Linked DNA regions of Homo sapiens: regions 2, 3 and 4 are each linked to region 1. Evidence: promoter capture Hi-C in 16 types of primary human blood cells and fetal thymus (Javierre and others, 2016). All regions are on one chromosome and are shown on one strand. The core of a region is centred on a gene start or on the middle of the fragment in contact, and the rest is flanking DNA. Distances in the headings are between cores, read along the strand shown.

Region 1 (2,700 bases), core at 180-2,679:
TAAAACAGCCACCCCAGTTCCAGTTCATTCCTGAGGTCCCACTGTATTCTGGAGACACTCTTGTATCCTTACAATAAATTCCTTGTGGCCGGTGGGGGTGGCTCGTGCCTGTAATCCCAGCACTTCGGGAGGCCAAGGCAGGAGGATTGCTAGAGCCCAATCCAGCAATCCTGGTTCAAGACCAGCTTAGGCAACATGGTGAAACCCTGTCTCTATAAAAAATTTAAAAAATAAAAATAATAGATTTCTTTTTCTTGCTAAAAGCAGTTTAAACTTGTTTCTGTTGCATGTATCCAATCTTAACTGCTGGATAATATCATTTGTATAAATATACTTCCATGTAGCCATTCTTCCGTTGATAGTCATTTTATTTTCAATTTTTTTCACTCTTAGAAACAAAACTGTAATGAACTTCTTGCATGTGTCTCTCTGCACATATTCATTAATTTCTCTAGGGCATATACCTAGAATTGCAATTGTCACAGCCTTGGGATTTTAATTTCCAAAATCTGACTCTGCCTCTTCCTGCGCTTTCTTACGCTTTCACTTCCAGCAAGCTGGAAGCCTCTTTAAACGTGGAAATCAGAGATAGTAGCCCTAATAAGGGTACAATAATAAATCATTCTTTGCAAGACTACACCTGTTCTAGGGTTTCATAAAGATCTCTGCTCCTCCCATGGCCAATAACTCAGTGGTTCTGATTTGAAAGCAGCAACCCTGTGACTCGCCACCTCGCGTATTCCCTGGTGTGAGTGGAGCCTGGAGTTCTCGTGTGTGGGGTGGAGGAGCCGTGCTGGGGACCCATGAGGCTGGAGAGGCCGGCACAGGCCAGACCATAAGGGGCCACGTGTTTCAGGGCAATGTACGTTGCGCTGGGGCCTACTGCCTCCCTTAGGACAGGGATGGGGCGACCTCCATCGTTTCAACCACAGGACACAGCGATGGCGGGGAGCTGAAGTCCTACTGCCGTCTGATCTTACTCCGCTCTTCCCCTTCAATCCCATCCAAATAGTGTGGGGGTTGGCCTCGAGGTTTCTCAACGTCCTTAAGCCCTGATTTAATACCTATGCATAGGGCCTTTCATTTATAGGGTTTTCCACCTGACGGGCCCTCTTCCGCTGCCGTTTCGCTTTGGCGCCCTCTGGCGCCCATAAACGAAGTGACGCGCCTGCGCTTCCCCCACCCTCTGCCCTTCGTCTCTTCCCCAGGTCGAATTGGTACCTCTACCTTTAGACACAGGGCCTAGCGGAAGAATTCCAGGGCCTAAGACTAGAAACGCGCGCTTGAAGCTCCCTCAGATTGGTCCAGTGAGGGAAGGGGAGGGCTGTAGCAAACTCCACAAAAGTCATTGGTCTCTTTCCTCAGGCTCCGCCCCGTGAGGCAATAGAGAACTCCCGTAATTGGTCGGAGCTCTGGAGGCGGGGCTTCGAGCGTGGCTCGTGGGTTTTCCGTGAAGTCGCGGTGCAGCGGTGGGCGGCATGTCTGTGGCCGGTGGGGAGATTCGTGGGGACACGGGGGGAGAGGACACTGCTGCTCCCGGCCGGTTCAGCTTCAGCCCGGAGCCCACGCTCGAGGACATGTAAGCAGGCCTGGCCCAGCTCGGGGTGGGGAAGTCGCCCCTTTCTCCCGCGTTTTGGGGAGGGTTCCTCCACGTGGTCGGGAAGCGGGCTGGCAGCGGGGCTCGGGTCCTGGCTCTGTGGGCTGTCCCTGGGTGAGCCTTCTTACCTCATCTGCAAAATGGGCGCAGCGGTGCACACCTGAGGCAAGGGAAATTGGGTGGTGCCTCCGAGTGGTAACTAGGAACGCCCTTCAGCCTAGCCCTGGGAAGATACCGGCACCAGATACCGCCTCTGCTCTCCAGGCGCCGGGGGTACGAGAGGGGCAAACGAAGTGCTGAGAGGTGGGAGACGTTATTTTTTGCTGGAGGAGGTCAAGAAAGGCTTCTTAGAGGAAGGGTCTGTGGAACTACCTTCTGTAAGAGAAATTGCATTTTGATGTGCGGCGATTCCAGGTGGAGGAAACTGCAGAAGTAGCAGCAGGAGATGGAATAATGAAGAGGGTTTTGTTAGTTTTGGCGAGATGTTAAGGGCAGTTCAGGGGCACGCCCATTTTATAGATGAGGGAACCAAGTTCCGGAAAGAGGAAATGACCTGCACAATACCATCCAATGAATTAGTTGCAGAATCTCCTGGTCCCAGGCCCCATTACATACTACGGGGGTAGCTGCCTCTGGCCCCTGCATCACCCTCTAACCCGGAGACTTGGACTTACACTCCTTTGTCCTATTTCAGCCGCCGCCTCCATGCTGAGTTTGCTGCGGAACGAGACTGGGAACAGTTCCATCAGCCTCGGAATCTCCTCCTGGCCTTGGTTGGGGAAGTGGGGGAGCTGGCAGAACTCTTGTGAGTAGATGGAAAGCTTCCTGGTAGAGTCTGAGTTGTGGGGGAGGGGAGGGGAGCATTTATTTGGTCTTCAAACATTCATGGGTTCAGTTTCCCCTCCTGATTGCTAGGCTCTTTGCTGTTGTTGGGATGCAGAGAGGACTCACGGGTCCCTGCCCTCTAGGGGCACTCAGCCTCCTGGAAGAGAGAGGTGTGAGGTGTGAAAGCATCAGGACAGGTCCCGTCTAGGAAGAAGCAGTGGCAACAACCCTTTTCCCTTCTTTTGTTTTTTGTTTTTTTGGCTTTTTTTTGAGACGGG
Region 2 (2,700 bases), core at 176-2,675, 260 kb before region 1:
AACCTGGGGGGTAGAGGTTGCAGTGAGCCCAGACTGTGCCACTGCACTCCAGCCTGGGCGACACAGCGAGACTCTATCTCAATAAATGAATAAAATAAAATATAATAATGGCTGATACGTGTTATGAAAAAATGAAGTGGGGTGGATGAGCTCGGGTGAGGGGCAGAAGAGGCATTATTTTAGACAAGATTGTCTGGGAGGGCCTCTCTAGTGTGGTGACATTTGAACAGAGACGCTCTGGGGGAAGAGCATCCTAAGCAGAGGTAAATAAGTACAAAGGGGCCGGGCGCGGTGGCTCACGCCTATAATCTCAGCACTTTGGAAGGCTGAAGCAGGTGTATCACCTGAGATCAGGAGTTCGAGACCAGCCTGGCCAACATGGTGAAAACCCATCTCTACTACAAAAATTTGCTGGGCCTGGTGGCGAGCACCTGTACTCCCAGCTACTTGGGAGGCTGAGGTAGGAGAATCGCTTGAACCCAGGAAGTGGAGGTTGCAGTGAGCCAAGATCATTCCATTGTACTCCAGCCTGGGTGACAAGAGCAAAACTCTGTCTCATAAAATAATAATAATAATAAGTACAAAGTCCCTGAGGCTAGACCCAGCTTATCCTGCCAGGAACCCACCAGGAGACTGCAGGGGAAGGGGAACAGTGGGAGATGCGGTCTTAGAAGAGGATCAGGCCTGCATCTGGCAGGGCTTTGAAGACCAAGCTAAGGAGCTTAGATGGAATGTGAAGTGTAGCAGGAGGGCTTTGAGCAGAGGCCAGATACAACGTGCTGACAACGGACTGTTGGGATAAGAGTCTAAGTGACTGCTGTAGTCTAGGTAAAAGGTGATGGAGATTGAAATCTTTAAGCAGAAAGGGAATGTGGTGGTAAGGTTGACAGATTTAGCAAATAACTCTTCTGGGGAACCTCTGCGAGGAAACTCTGGAAGGCAGTTGTGGGTGGCTGAGGTCCCAGGAGGCTAGGAGAGGGTGCTAGAATACCTCTCCTCTCCACAAGGACTGAAAACTTCTCAGAACACAGCCAAGCACAGAGCCTTCGTGGGTTGAACCCAGCACATCTTAAGCAAACACACGAATCCAAAACATCCCAACCTTATGAGAAGGAAACTGTAATTATGACACCCAGTTCTAGGAAGGGTATGGGCAGCTAGGTGCACACACTGCTGTCGGAGGGACTGTAAGCATGCCCAAACTTTTTTATTTGAATTAAAAAATTATTCGGCCGGGCACGGTGGCTCATGCCTAATCCCAGCACTTTGGGAGGCCGAGGCGGGTGGATCATGAGGTCAGGAGTTCAAGACCAGCCTGGCCAAGATAGCGAAACCCCGTCTCTATTAAAAACACAAAAAAATTAGTGGGTAATCTTGGCAGGCGCCTGTAATCCCAGGTACTTGGGAGGCTGAGGCAGAGAATTGCTTGAACCCGGGAGGCAGAGGTTGCAGTGAGCCGAGATCACGTCACTGCACTCCAGTCTGGGCAACAGAGCGAGAGTCCATCTCAAAAAAAATTAAAAAAAATTCTTGAACCCAGGAAGCTGAGTTTTCAGTGAGCCGAGATTACGCCACTACACTCCATCCTTGGGCAACAGTGAGACTCCACCTCAAAACAAACAAACACAAAACAACAACAACAAAAGGAGAATATTGGCTGAGGTCACATGACATACAATAAATAAGAAAAGCCTTGATCCATTAAGTGACTCACAAAAGAGTGACCATTAAGTACTGCATTCTAAAAAAAAAAAAAAAAAAAAAAGGTGTGTAGAATAAGTACCTTCTGTTTTGTGGTCTTGTTAGAAAAAAAAAAGGAAACAAAACAAAAAAATAGCAGAATGTGTTTGTTAATTCCTGGAGAGTGGTACACAGGTGTTTTTTTGGTGTGTTTTTGTTGTTGTTGTTTGAGACAGAGTGTTACTCGTTGCCAGGCTGGAGTGTAGTGGCGCGATCTCAGCTCACTGCAACCTCTGTCTCCTGGGTTCAAGCGATTCTCCTGCCTCAGCCTCCTGAGTAGCTGGGATTACAGGCGCAGGCCACAGGTGTTTGTTATACTTATTTTTTAAACTTAAAAACAACTGGCCGGGAGCAGTGGCTCACGCCTGTAATCTCAACACTTTGGGAGGCTGAGGAAAGAGGATTGCTTGAGTCCAGGAGTTCCAGACCAGCAGGTGAAACATAGTCAGACCCTGTCTTTACAAAACAACAACTACTGAAAATGTTTTTAAGGTAGAGGTAAAACAAATGTTTGCTTTATCGTTACTATTTATTTATTTTTGAGACAGAATCTCCCTCTGTCCCCCAGGCTGGAGTGCAGTGGGCCTGACCTCGGCTCACTGCAACCTCCTCCTCCTGGGTTCAAACGATTCTCCTGCCTCAGCTTCCTGAGTAGCTGGGATTACAGGCATGAGCCACCATGCCCAGCTAAGTTTTCTGTATTTTTAGTAGAGACAGTTTCACCATGTTGTCCTCAGGTGATCCGCCTGCCTCGGAGGCCTCCCAAAGTGCTGGCATTACAGGCGTGAGCTACAGCACCCGGCTTATAGTTACTTTGGATTTTTTTGGGTTTTTTTTGTTTTTTTTTTTGTTTTTTTTTGAGAAGGAGTTTCACTATTGTTGCCAGGCTGGAGTGCAATGGCAAGATCTCGGCTCACTGCAATATCCGCCTCCTGGGTTCAAGCAATTCTCCTGCCTCAC
Region 3 (2,700 bases), core at 102-2,601, 380 kb after region 1:
CTCTCCCTCCCCCTCTTCCAAACACACGATAGCCCTAGCAGTTCCCCAAATGCTGCAGCCTCCCTCTCACCCCCAGACTGTTTCCTCTGCCGGAAATGCCTTTTCTCGTGGATTACTTAGTCAACTCCTTATCTTGCCAGGAATACCAGAAATGTGCCCTCCCGTGGGAAGTCCATTCCTGGACTCTTCCTGACAGCTCTCGTCCTGAGCTGGCAGGTTGTAGTCTCTGTTGGGTAGAAGCCCCCTCCCCAGTCCGTGCTGGAAGACAGGCCCATTCGGGGTTAGGAGAGGGCGCTGAGGGGGCCCAGAGAGGGGAAGGGGCCCGGACTTACGTCCATGGGGAAGGGCAGAGCCAGTCAGTCCGGGAGCTGCAGAAGGAAGGTTCTGGGTCTCAGAGGCTGAGAGGCACCGTTAGACCGGGGTGCCCACCCTCCTTCCCTTTCCTGTTTGGGGAAACTGAGGCCATGGCTGGGCCGGAGGGTGGAATTCGGGAAGGGGAATGGGGGGCGGGGGATCCGAGGCGGCGCCTTCCTCGCAGGCTCCAGCGCGCCCCAGGCCACTCCCCTCCTCAGTCCCCACACTCCGGGCTTCCCCAGTCGGTCAGCACCCATCACCTGCACCCTCGGGCCGCGGGCAATTCACGGATTCCGCGCCAAGCTAGGTCCAATCGTCCGAGGGACCGGCCCCGCCCAGAAGCCGTTCGCGGCATCCCGCTGTTGCCATGGTGACCAGAGCGGTGTTTGTACGGCGGCTGCCGAGGCCCAAACTCCCTCTTCCCGCCTCGCGCCTCCCTCTTCCCGCCTAAGCTTCAACTGTCACCGGCTCTGCGCCGCCGCGGCCCTCGGGGCTTTCTCGCGGGGAGCGAAGGGGAAGAGCGAATCCCGCCGCCGCCCGCCTGGGTCGGATCCTCATCAGATGCCGGACGTTGGAGGAGGCACCGGGTTCTGGGGCGCCACAGGAGGATTGAACCCCCAGGCTACACCCACCACTTGGATGTATCTCCGGCCAAGCCACTGAGCATCTGCAAAAGGGAGAAACGCCTGCCGCTCAGGGATATTGTAAACATCAATGCTACTTTTTATATTTTATTTATATTTATTTATTTATTTATTTATTTATTTATTTATTTATTTTTGAGACGGAGTCTCGCTCTGTCGCCCAGGCTGCAGTGCAGTGGCGCGATCTCGGCTCACTGCAACCTCCGCCTCCCGTGTTCAAGTGATTCACCTGCCTCAGCCTCCCGAGTAGCTGGGATTACAGGCGCGCACTACCACACCCGGCTAATTTTTGTATTTTTAGTAGAGACAGGGTTTCGCAATGTTGACCAGGCTGGTCTCGAACTCCTGACCTCAAGTGATGCGCCCGCCTCAGCTTCCCAAAGTGCTGGGATTATAGGCGTGAGCCACCGCGCCGGGCCCGGTTCTTTTTTACTGATTTATTTATTAATTGATTTATTTATTTTTTGGAGACAGATTTTCGCTCATCTCCCAGGCTGGAGTGCAATGGTGTGATCTTGGCTCACTACAACCTATGTCTCCTGGGTTCAAGCGATTCTCCCGCCTCAGCCTCCCGAGTAGCTGAGATTACAGGCGACTGCCACCACGCACACCTAATTTTTGTATTTTTAGTAGAGACGGGGTTTCACCATGTTGGCCAGGCTGGTCTCGAACTCCTAACCTCAGGCAATCCCGCCCGCCTTGGCCTCCCAAAGTGCTAGGATTACTGGCATGAGCCACTGTGCCCAGCCTTTTTTTCTGAATTTTTAGAGATGTGGTCTTGCTATGTTGTTAAGGCTGGTCTTGAACTCCTGGGCTCAAGCAGTCCTCCAGCCTCAGCCTCCCAGGTAGCTGGGATTACAGGCATAAGCCACCTTCAGTAGGATCTGCTGAAGCTTCCTGAACCAGTGTGTAGGGTCTCACATTTCCACAGCTTTGCAGTTGCTGATCCCTCTGCCTGGAACACCCTCTGTCTTCCCCTCAAACCTCTTCCTCATCCCTCAAGCACGTCCTCAGTTTTGCCTCTGTGAGGTCTCCCTGCCAACCTCAGGCAGAGGTGGCTGCTTTGGACTGTGAATTCCCACAGCATCCTACAGATACTGTTGTTCTCGCACTTCTCACAAGATACTTGAATTCCTCACTTCCATGTCTGGCTCCACAATTAGACTGCAAGTGTCTGGGGCCTGGTCTGAGTCATCTCCGTATCCTGAGCTCTAGTACTTGGCCTAGCCCTGGGAGCCTTGGTGAATACTCACTGATTCTTTTTCTTTCTTTCTTTCTTTTTTCTTTTCTTTTCTTTTTTTTTTTTTTTTTTGAAACGGAGTTTTGCTCTTGTCGCCCAGGCTGGAGTGCAATGGTGTGATCTCAGCTCACTGCAACCTCCGCCCTGGATTCAAGCAATTCTCCTGCCTCAGCTTCCAGAGTAGCTGGAAGTGCCACCATGCCCAGCTAATTTTGTATTTTTAGTAGAGACGGGGTTTGTCCATGTTGGTCAGGCTGGTCTCGAACTCCCGACCTTAGGTGTTCTGCCCGCCTTGGCCTCCCAAAGTGCTGGGATTACAGGTGTGAGCCACTGCGCCTGGCCTGTTTTTTTCTTTTAATAAAGTAGACATGGGGTCTCACTATGTTGGCCAGGCTAGTCTCCAACTCCTGCCTCAAATGATCCTCCCACCTCGGCCTCCCAGGTTGCTGGTATTACAGGCCA
Region 4 (2,700 bases), core at 141-2,640, 280 kb before region 1:
AGGCAGTGGGAACTTTGACGGAATTTAAGCATGTGCTAAGTGGCACAAATACATTTCAGTAAACACATGCTAAATGCCCTGCAAGGGACAGATGGCCTAGAGGTGTCAAGGAGAACTATTAACAATCCCCAAAGGCAGGACCCATATTTTGCCACTATACTTTTTTATCCATACAACATAAACGTCATTAGAGTTGCCTGAAATTATATTTACTCCCTCAAGAAGTTTTGATCATTCCTACTACCACGCCATCTACCAATCTAATCCAAGGCCATTTTCCTTTCCTGATCCCCACTGTCTACCTTCTCCACATTGCTCCAGAACTGCCTGACATCCTTGGCCATGGTGGAAGCAATTCGACGCAGCTTGGCCTGCTCCTCCCTCCGGGCCCGTTCCTCTTTCTGCCGCTGCTCCTCGTGGTGCCGGATCACCATGCGCACCACCTGTGGGAATGAAGACCCAGGGTGAAAACACTCAAAGCCAGACTTCCCCACCCAAAGGCAAAGAAAATAATCAAGGCCAAGAAATCTGGAAAATCAAGAGTTTGCTCTTAATGCCTACACCATTCTGTCTGGTCCCCTTCCAACAAACCGGGAAGGAACAGACCTGAAAAGGAAAAGGAAGGAAGTCCCAGCGGAAGACCTACCTTCCGGGCCACACCCCGTTTCCAACGGCGCTCCTGAGCAAAGTCAGCAGAGAGCCACTGCATCTCTTCGCACAAATAGTCCCAGTGACCTTTGGGGCGAGGGGGCTCTGGCACCTTAGGCAGCCTCTTCAGTGACCAGAAACCCTCCTTCCGCAGCTCAGCAATCCGAGTCTCGATCTCGGCCTCCTAATCAGGGAGAGCCAGATCAATCAACAGTTCTAAACACACACTCCATCTCACTGCCACGGCTGAATTCCTGAGCACTAAGTGGGCTGAGTGTGTTATGCTTATGTTTAGTCCACATACCAAACTTACAGGCAGGTATCATACTCTCTTCAGAGAAGGGAAAAAAGATCAGGGAGATGAAGAAGGAAAAAAGATCAGGGAGATTAAGTGATTTGCCCAAGATCACACAGCTAGAAAGTAATAGAAAATGTGAATCAAAAATAGGTCTGAGGACTCCAGACAGCAAATTTCATGCTCTTTCCATTATTTAACACAATCTCCACACCCCATAGACATAGGAGAGACTTGGGAAATCATATCCCAAGAGGAGCTTCCCAGAGGAGTAGGGAACACATACTTCCCTCTTGATTCTAGATACAAGGGGTCATCATCATTGTAGAATTCTACTTACTCAGAGTATTTTCATGATGCATTAAGCTTAGAAATATGCTATAATGCCCAACTGACACACTGTTGTTTTTAAAAATACTACTTTTGTAAAAATGCATATGTTTATGTAAAAAATACTGAAACGTTATACGTGAAATGTTTAACACTGATTAGGTGTAAAAAAGAGTGGTCATTTTTACTAAAGCTTCTACACTGATTGTCTTTTATTTAAAAAGCATTTAAAATTTTTTTGACAGAGACGACTCAAAAAATTCAGGACAACTGCCTTATTTCTTTTTCTGAATCTCACTCAGAAATCTGAGTGAGATTTTTCTGGGTCTCACTCTGCTGCCTAGGCTCAGGTTATCTTCCCAACTCAGCCTCCCAACTCAGCCTCCCAGGTAGCTGAGACTGACTATAGGCACATGCAACCATGCCCAGCTAATTTTTTTGTATTTTTCGTAGGGGCGAGGTTTCACAATGTCAAGGCTGGTCTGGAACTCCTGGGTTTAAGCAATCCGCCTGCCTGGGATTCCCAAAATGCTCAGATTATAGGCGAAAACCACCGCACCCAGCCTCTGTCTTTGTTATTTCTGTCCTCTCCTGATAAAAACTAAATCAGAGAAAATGACAGCCAGAGACCAGACAGGACTAAATGGCCTGACAGTGAAGGAAACATCAAGAAAGACGTGGATATTAGACCAGCTGCTCTCAAACTTGAGGAGGCACCGGAATCATCTGGAGGACTTTTAGAAACAGGTTGTGCTCACACCTGTAATCCCAGCACTTTGGGAGGCCAAGGCGGGTGGATCACAAGGTCAGGAGATCGAGACCATCTTGGCTAAAACGGTGAAACCCCGTGTCTACTAAAAACACAAAAAATTAGCCAGGCATAGTGGCGAGCGCTTAGTCCCAGCTACTCGGGAGGCTGAGGCAGGAGAATGGCGTGAACCCAGGAGGCGGAGCTTGCAGTGAGCCGAGATCATGCCACTGCACTCCAGCCTCAGCGAAAGACTGAGACTCCGTCTCAAGGAAAAAAAAAAAAACCCAATTGTGGCCGGGCGCAGTGGCTCATGCCTGTAATCCCAGCACTTTCAGAGGCCGAGGCTGGCAGATCACAAGGTCAAGAGATCAAGACCATCCCGCCAACATGGTGAAACCCCATCTCTACTAAAAATACAAAAAATTTAGCCGGGTGTGATGGCGGGCGCCTGTAGTCCTAGCTACTCAGGAGGCTGAGGCCAGAGAATGGCTGTGAACCCGGGAGGCGGAGCTTGCAGTGAGCCAAAATTCTGCCACTGCACTCCAGCCTGGGCGACAGAGCGAGACTCCGTCTCAACAAAATAAATAAATAAAATAAAAATAAAAATAAAAAATAAAAACATTGCTGGGCCCTACCCTCATAGTTTCAAATGGGTCGGTGGGTGAGAGGTACCAAG

What was found. The method cuts DNA at HindIII sites, captures the fragments that hold promoters and counts their contacts. A CHiCAGO score of 5 or more calls a contact.
Region 2: a contact is called between a fragment that was not itself captured here and the fragment with the promoter of DCTPP1 in region 1, in 1 of 17 cell types (naive B cells). The highest score is 6.0, in naive B cells.
Region 3: a fragment that was not itself captured here is called in contact with the fragment with the promoter of DCTPP1 in region 1 in 2 of 17 cell types (fetal thymus and endothelial precursors); the score reaches 8.2 in fetal thymus.
Region 4: a contact is called between a fragment that was not itself captured here and the fragment with the promoter of DCTPP1 in region 1, in 4 of 17 cell types (total B cells, naive B cells, activated CD4 T cells and 1 more). The highest score is 7.1, in total B cells.

What each region holds. Positions count from the first base shown.
Region 1 is chr16:30,428,759-30,431,458 of GRCh38, reverse strand. DCTPP1 (dCTP pyrophosphatase 1) reads left to right here and starts at 1,429. Exons shown (of 3, transcript NM_024096.2): 1 at 1,429-1,579; 2 at 2,292-2,402. The coding sequence starts at 1,479. RefSeq lists enhancers at 982-1,091, 1,492-1,571, 2,325-2,700. The HindIII fragment of the contact is 11,131 bases long and covers 1-2,420 here.
Region 2 is chr16:30,686,934-30,689,633 of GRCh38, reverse strand. No RefSeq gene overlaps it. Among named protein-coding and RNA genes, the nearest start is that of SRCAP, 11 kb to the left of the region's middle. The HindIII fragment of the contact is 3,737 bases long and covers 1-2,700 here.
Region 3 is chr16:30,051,132-30,053,831 of GRCh38, reverse strand. LOC112694756 (uncharaterized LOC112694756) reads right to left here and starts at 681. Exons shown (of 14, transcript NM_001365304.2): 1 at 615-681; 2 at 333-368. The coding sequence starts at 338. It also overlaps a transcript of TLCD3B not described here. RefSeq lists an enhancer at 1-278. The HindIII fragment of the contact is 1,085 bases long and covers 809-1,893 here.
Region 4 is chr16:30,705,315-30,708,014 of GRCh38, reverse strand. SRCAP (Snf2 related CREBBP activator protein) reads right to left here. Exons shown (of 34, transcript NM_006662.3): 5 at 647-832; 6 at 303-443. Among named protein-coding and RNA genes, the nearest start is that of SNORA30, 3.9 kb to the left of the region's middle. The HindIII fragment of the contact is 157 bases long and covers 1,312-1,468 here.